Linked DNA regions of Homo sapiens: region 2 is linked to region 1. Evidence: promoter capture Hi-C in human tissues and cell types (Jung and others, 2019). All regions are on one chromosome and are shown on one strand. Each heading gives the region's core, a stretch centred on a gene start or on the middle of the fragment in contact. The rest is flanking DNA. Distances are from core to core; before and after follow the strand shown. Region 1 holds the start of GPR139 (G protein-coupled receptor 139). Region 2 has its middle 76 kb from the start of GPRC5B.

The links. Contacts are between HindIII fragments. The study calls those that stand out against the background at their distance.
Region 2: a fragment that was not itself captured here is called in contact with the fragment with the promoter of GPR139 in region 1 in 2 of the 25 tissues and cell types used here (H1 embryonic stem cells and aorta).

Annotation. Positions count from the first base shown.
Region 1 is chr16:20,072,127-20,075,759 of GRCh38, reverse strand. GPR139 (G protein-coupled receptor 139) reads left to right here and starts at 1,870. Exons shown (of 2, transcript NM_001002911.4): 1 at 1,870-2,270. The coding sequence starts at 2,144. The HindIII fragment of the contact is 2,569 bases long and covers 207-2,775 here.
Region 2 is chr16:19,958,712-19,962,344 of GRCh38, reverse strand. No RefSeq gene overlaps it. Among named protein-coding and RNA genes, the nearest start is that of GPRC5B, 76 kb to the right of the region's middle. The HindIII fragment of the contact is 5,795 bases long and covers 1-3,633 here.

The DNA.
Region 1 (3,633 bases), core at 621-3,120:
GGGCATCTTTGAAGAGACTAGGAGGGCTTTGTCAGATCACATACATTTCCCCCGCCCCTGGCTATCCCCAACTTCTCATCTCAGTCTAGCTGCCTGCAGACCAATCCAATCTATAGGTTTTTGAACAATTATTTATTGAGCTTCTACAATGGCCAGCCACTGCTTTATTCATCAATGCAGCGGTGTTCTCGTTTTCTTTGTGTTTGCAGTAGTCATATTTAATCGAGAGAGGTCATAATAAAATTTCAGTATCTAATGGGGCTTGAAATCTCAGACCTGGCCTCACTGGGCTGGGTCCATGTGACTCTAATCTGCCCTTTTGTGGGGCCACGTGCCTCCTTGCTTACCACAGACCCAGCTAGATCCAGTAGATGCCCCCCTTATGCAGACTGCCTGACTCTGTATGCTTTGGAGATTTCCACTCTGCCCTAGAGTGTCCCCCATCCCTGCCTGGGGTAACCTCTAACAAAGACAAGAACTGGATACATGCTCTTTGCTGGTCTTGAGGGACAGGGGTCTGCTCCACGTTGGGAGACCTGGAAGAGGCTGGGGAAAGCTTAGCCAGTTCCTTCTCTCCAGGAATGGATGTGATATAGGGGTGAGGGGCGTTGGGAAGCAGCGGGAGTGGGGGGTTTGAGGGCGGGGGGTCTTAGGCTTCTCAGACCCATCACAGCTCTTTGCATAGGCAGCTGCTACAGTCTGCTCCTGGGGATGCCTGGCCTGGGTGTTCCTGCAGAATCTTTAACTCTCTCACACTCACTGTCTTGAGCCCCAGACAGACACTATGTCCCTCTCTCTCTCTCTCTCTCTCTCCTCTCTCTCCTCTCTCTCTCTCTCTCTCTCTTTCTCTCCTCTCTTTCTCCTCAAGTCTGTGGTGGCCACACCCGGAACCCTCCACCTGCCTGCCCTGAGGAGAAAGGACCACCCACCCACACATTGCTTGGATCCCACCTGCCTTACAAATGCTACCCTTCACACAACCTTCAAGCACTCTCGACAAGCCCCCATGACTCCCGCGTGCGTTTTCGTATGTTTGGAGCGCCCTGTGAGTGTGGTCTTGTGCATGGTGATGAGGATGCCTGCGTGTTTTCAAGGGTCTGGGTGTGGGATGGGAGAGCATCCGCGTGCCTGAGTGAGCGTGTGAGTACACCGCATGCCTGGGTATTGTGTGTCTTTGTGTGAGCGTGGGCGAGTGCGTGTTTGAGTGTCTGCAACATCCTTATTCCTGACTGAAGGGCGGCATGCAGGAGGGGCTTCTCTTAGCCAGTCTGTATCCTCTTCAAACGCACTCCAGTTAGGGGACAGTTCACCGGCGGCCACCCCCAGAGTCGCCACACACACGCACAGGGAGGCACGCACCCCTCTTTCCAGAGCCAGCAAGCTCAGCTTCCCTTGTCGAGGAAAACCGACAACGCTTTAGCATCCTCGCTGCTCCAACAGCCCCACCCCTTCCCCCGTTCTTTGCCCTAGGTATAGAATCCTCTATCCGGAGATGGACTGGAAGCATTGGAGAGGGGCAAGAGAGGTGGCTGCGAGGAGAGTGGAGAAAGGCAAACTGAGGACACGCTGGAGGAGTGAGGAGCCGCTGCGGGAGAGGCAGATCCTACCCACACCACGCCCCTCCCTCGGGGTTGGAGATTGGGGATAGCCTGTTTTCCACTCCGGTCTTCCTTCGGGGCTCCCAGGTCTAACTGCATCTTCTCCCCTGAAAGTGGAGCCAAGCGAGGCGGCTGGGACCCCCTCCTCTTCCGCATCCCTCCCACCCCACACACACTCCGCTTCCAGGCAGCCGCTGATTGGCTGCGGGGAGCGGCGTCCCAGCCCCCCGGCTTTGAGGCGGGAGTGGAGCGGGTCCGAGGTGGGAGGCGCACAGACGGGCTCCGGGAGCCCCTCCCGAGGCCCCGCGCAGCGCGCCCCGCACCCTGCGCCCCGCGCCCTGCGGGAGGGCTGAGCCAAGACTCCAGGCGGGCAGGTGCGGAGCGAGCAGAGGGGATCACGGCCAAGGGTAGGAGCCAGTCCTGCGGGGAGAGAGGCGCTGCTGCTCCAGCTGCCGCTGCCTCCGCCGCCGCCACCACCGAGCCGGCGACCAGAGTCGGGCTGGCAGGCCGGGCGCGAAGCGGCAAGGGGAGCGAGGGGCGCGCTCATGGAGCACACGCACGCCCACCTCGCAGCCAACAGCTCGCTGTCTTGGTGGTCCCCCGGCTCGGCCTGCGGCTTGGGTTTCGTGCCCGTGGTCTACTACAGCCTCTTGCTGTGCCTCGGTTTACCAGGTGAGGGGCGTGGGGGAGAGGGAGGGAAGCCAGGAACCCCAAGTGCCGGGCAACCCTACCCAGAATCCCCCGTCCTCCCCCGTGCGTTCCCTGGCGCCCCCTCGGAAAAAGTTTAAGCTTTAAGGGCAACTATGGATATTTCCACACGGGGGGAAAGGAAGTTGCTGTGCCCTAGCTGGGGACCGTGTGTGTGTGTGTGCGCGCGCGAGCGTGTGTGTGTGTGTGTGTGTGTGTGTGATGACTGTGACGGCGGGCGATGGGCTGGGCATGTGAGCATGGATTCGAAGGTGCATTTGTGCGCGCATCTGGAGGGGGCGGCTTTCATGGGGTGGGGGCGTAGAGGGCTTTGTGTGTGTTTGGCTTGACTGCATGTTCTGGACAGAAGGCTTCGTGGAGGCTTCCCTTCTCCCGTGGCCCCTGCACGTCCACCCCACTTGGGGCACCTCTGCCCCTCTGCGTGTCCCCGCCTGACACGAGATGAAGCTGGAGACCCTGACATTGAGCACTCTCTTGCTCGGGGGGCACTGGAATGGAGAAAGAATGCCTAGCAAGAAAAGGGTCTCCCAGCTGGCTAAGGAGAATCAGGGGTTGGCTCTGGGACCATGCCCTGGCCAGGGCAAGGGTGCAGAGACACACAGGGCAGCCTGCGGTGGCTGCCACCTCAGGGGGTCACAGTCTCCTTGAGGACATGCCTGGCCCCCTGGCTTGGCCTCCAGGTCTACCCACCCTGGGCAGCTCACGGCTGCTGTGGATGTCTGGCTGGTCCCACATCTTAATGTCCTTTCCAAAGTGTGGCTGAGACTTGTCCTGAATTCCTGAAGAGAGCTGAGCTGCCGAGAAGGAGGGAGTGCTTGCCTGGGCCGTGTGCGAGAGAGAGCGAGAGAGAGAGAAAGCTTTTTTCCTGGGGCTCCAGCTTTGGGTGGACCCTCCTTGCAGGCAGTCTTGGTGACAAATAGATCCCTAAAGATTACTTGCATGCAGAGAGGAGAGAGGGACTGAAAGAAGCAGAGAGAAAGAGAGAAAAAAAATCCAGTGTACAGCCTGAAATCTTAGCATCATCTCCCTAGTCATCTCTTAGTCTGCGAACCTTAGCATCTTGCGATCCTGGGAACTTGGGAGCTGGATTTCTGAGAGCCTGGCTGAGATTTCCTTTCCCAAACATTCAACTTGGCAGTCAGGGCCCCTGATGAGATTGTTTCAATAAATCCCCCCTCCCAAATTTGGCAGGCATGAGAAAGCGCAAGTTTACTAATGTGTGAGCCTCTCTCCCCAAGCCAGTGATGAGGCTTTTATTCCTAACTAATCGCCACGGCTGCCCTAGGAGAGCAGCTCAGCCTCTGACTTGCCCTGCCGGGGTGGTAGC
Region 2 (3,633 bases), core at 343-2,842, 110 kb after region 1:
AGCTGAGACACAGGTCCCCAATGCTCTTGACCTCCCCACCTCTCTAGAGTTTACTTATGCAACCTCTCCCCAACTTGAGAGTCAGGTGAGGGAACAAGAGCCAAAGCCCTTTCTAAAATAGACTTGTGGCAGATTGGATTTCCCAAAGATGGGGGCAAAAATATCTCTTGTCCAACTTGCTCTTCTTATAATGTAACCTTGATACTCCATCCATGGAGTAGTGAAGTCTGTATCTCCTTCTGTTTTAGTCCATTTTCTGTTGCATATAACAGAATACCTTAAACTGGGAAATTTATAAAGAAAAGAAATTCATTTCTTACAGTTCTGGAGGCTGTGAAGTCCAAGGTCAAGGGGGGTGCACCTGGTGAGGGCCTTCTTGCTGGTAGGGACTCTCTGCAGAGTTCTGAGGAAGGCACCACATTGGAAGGGGGCTGAGTATGCTAGCTCAGGTGTCTCTTCTCTTATAAAGTTAGCAATGCCACTCCCATAATAACCCATTAATTCATTAACCCATCAATCCATAAATGGATTAATCTATTCATGAGGGCAGAGCATCCATGGTCCAATCACCTCTTAAAGGCTCCACTTTTCAATACTGCCATATTGGGGATTTAAGTTTCAACATAAGTTTTGGAGGGGATAAACATTCAAACCATAGTACCTTCCCTTGAACCTGAGCAGAGCTTTATGACTGCCTCCATCAGTAGAGGACGGTGGAAGAGATACTATCTGACTTCCAAAGTTATATCATTTTAAAGCTATGCATTTCTATCCTCCTCTCTTGGGATACTTGCTCTTAGAACCCAAATCCCATGCTGCAGAAAAGTCCAAGTAGCCATGGAGAGACTTGTGGAGAGGACTGAGATCCCTGGCCATAGCCCCAGCTGAGTTTCCCAACAGCCAGCACCAACTTACCAGCCATATGAATGAGCCATCCTGAAAACAAATCTCCGAACCACCTGCCAACCCCCACCCCATCAAGCCATCCCAGCTGATGTCACTGGAGCAGAGAAGGCCCTGCCCAAATTGCAGAACAGTGAGCAAAATAAATAAGAATTGTTGTTTTAAGCCACTAAGTTTTGGGGTAGTTTTCACGCAGCAATAAATAACTGATTCCATACTTATCCACACCTAATTCTCGTGTATCTCCTTGCTTCTGTCTCTTCCCAGGGAGATGTTATCATTTCTGTAGTGATAAAATTGCCTCTTCATCTTCTCTTTCCAAGTTTTTTATTATGATATAAACCATGCACCCTAAGCTCTTTAGGACTTAAGCTTTTGAAACCATTTTTAAAAACTGGCTTTTATAAAGCAAAATCCTTGGTTTTCAAAATTATTGTCAGGTGCCAAGCATTTCAAAAACCTGTTTTGAAACTCAAAAGCTGAGCGTTGGCTTTTTTTTTTTTTTTCTTCTTCCTCTATGCATTCCTGCCATAACAGCCATCCCTGGATGGTGATGAGTATGGAATACCACAGTCTCAGGTGGGAGGGAGAATGATATACGAAATTTCCAGAAGTGGTGGGATGCACTGGGTAATATAACACTATCATGCTATTTTTACCCAAGCAGATACAAATCTCCAGTGTGCAAGGTTATCCTGTTCCTTTATTTTCTTTAAATCAACTTCAATCCAACTCTGGGCAGCCATCCACTGTCCTGGTGGAAAACGAGACTTCAGTGATAATTAGAACACCTTTTCTGAGCACCATCCCCTACCCACAAGGGGTGAACAAAAGTTCTCAGGTCTTAGCCCTATCCTTTCAAGGCAATACTCATAGGCTTTGCCCCATGTAGTCTCTGCTGAAATACACGTTGTTCAAGACAGTCAGCAAAGTTTTTGTGTAAAGGGTTAGATAGTCAATATTTTCAACTTTGCTGGCCATACAGTCTCTGCTGCAACTACTCAGTTCTGCTGAGTATTGCAAAAGCAGCCACGGGCAAATCCATAAATAAATGGTCTTGTCTGCGTTGCAATAAAACTTTATTTACACAAACAAGTGGCAGCCATAGTTTGCTGACTCTAAGCCCACACAAGTCCCTTGAACTCCTGTGTTTCTCTGATTATGCCCCCAGGGAGAGCCATCAAGATATTTTCTTTTGAAACAGTATCTGTCACTCGGGCTGGAGTGCAATGGTGGGATCACGGGATATCCAATGAGGCTTCATTGGAGCTTATGCTCCGACATAAGGGAGGCAGTGCAAGAGAGAGAGGGAATTCCTTAAACCGATTCCCCAAAAAGAGTGGGTAGGGCTTTTTTATTAGGCAAAACATGGGAATTGACATCGGGGGAGGGTATGCAGGCTGTACTGGGCAAGGCATGTGAAGAGTAGGGTATGCAGTTCAGTATCTCAGGTTGCAATGGCTGTTTGGAGTCGTGGTCACCTGGTGGTCTGGCCAGCAGCAACAAGTCTATAAATCGATTGTTCAGCATTCCTTCCCAAGGGGGAATGCTGCAACCTTGGTTATCTCCTAGAGCCAGTTCCTGGAATTTTTAGCATTGAGGTACTGGTGTGGGTTTGTGATCAGTGAGAATGCATGAAAGAATGCTCTAGAGCATGTGAGCTGAACCAACCCCATCTCCACTGTGTCTTATTCCCCGCTGAGAGAATTTATTCTCCCTCTTCTTAAGGAGAAAGGGCAATGGTTTCATCTTTTGGAGCTACTTCCTGCTGGCCAGGGTCATTGTTTATCCCTAATTTATGAAGTCATAAAAACGTCTTGATTTAGTGTTTCATAGGAGCTTGGCTCCTCCTGGGATGGTAGGGGTTGGAATCCTTGCACCACTATCAGTTTGACATGAACTGTTGAAGCCTGGAAGACAAACTTTAACCATCTGCACCGCCGTTGAATGTAACAGATAATTATTTTAAAAATCAAATAGCACACAGTAATAATTAATAAAATGCTTAAGCTCAGTTTAACAATGCTTATAAGAAGGGATTGAACACCATTTGAAATTTAAGTTGGTAGGCTGGAAAACCAGTCTCCTGTTGTCTGAAATATAAAGCAAACAGACTTTTAATAGAGGCATTTCTATGGAAACAGAAGAAAAACAAGCATTAATGGTGGGCATAATCTATCCAGATGTTAGATTCAAAGCATCTTTAGTTACAGAGAAAGGCAGTGGCAATCTGACATGTTCTCACCTGTATCATAAAGAATAAGCTTTAGCTTGCAGGGAATCAGGAAAAAGACAGTAGAAATCCTGTTAAGTTAGGAAAATGGAAGAAAAATTTGAAAACATTAGTTTGGAGACTTGTAGCCCAGAAAGGACTTAAGATTCAATCCAAATAGCAGCAAATAATTTTTCAACTCAAAAACAATGAACAAAAACAATGAACAAGAACAGAATCTAACAGCAGGTATATTATAAGCTTTCTCTATCCAGTCTTTCATTTTTATCAGTGGCAAATCACAGCAGGACCAATTTGCAAAACAAGTTTTGATCTTATTATACTTGGCCTGATTATTTGCATAAGGTACAACAAAAATAATTATTTCCCATACAGACCGTCTTCTAAATTGGCTTTCCTAGAACTTTTTCCATAAGGAATATCAGATTTGACACTTTTTAAAGCCTCGAGCCCAGTCACATATTTATCTGTGCCTGCAAATACTTATATGAGTTGGG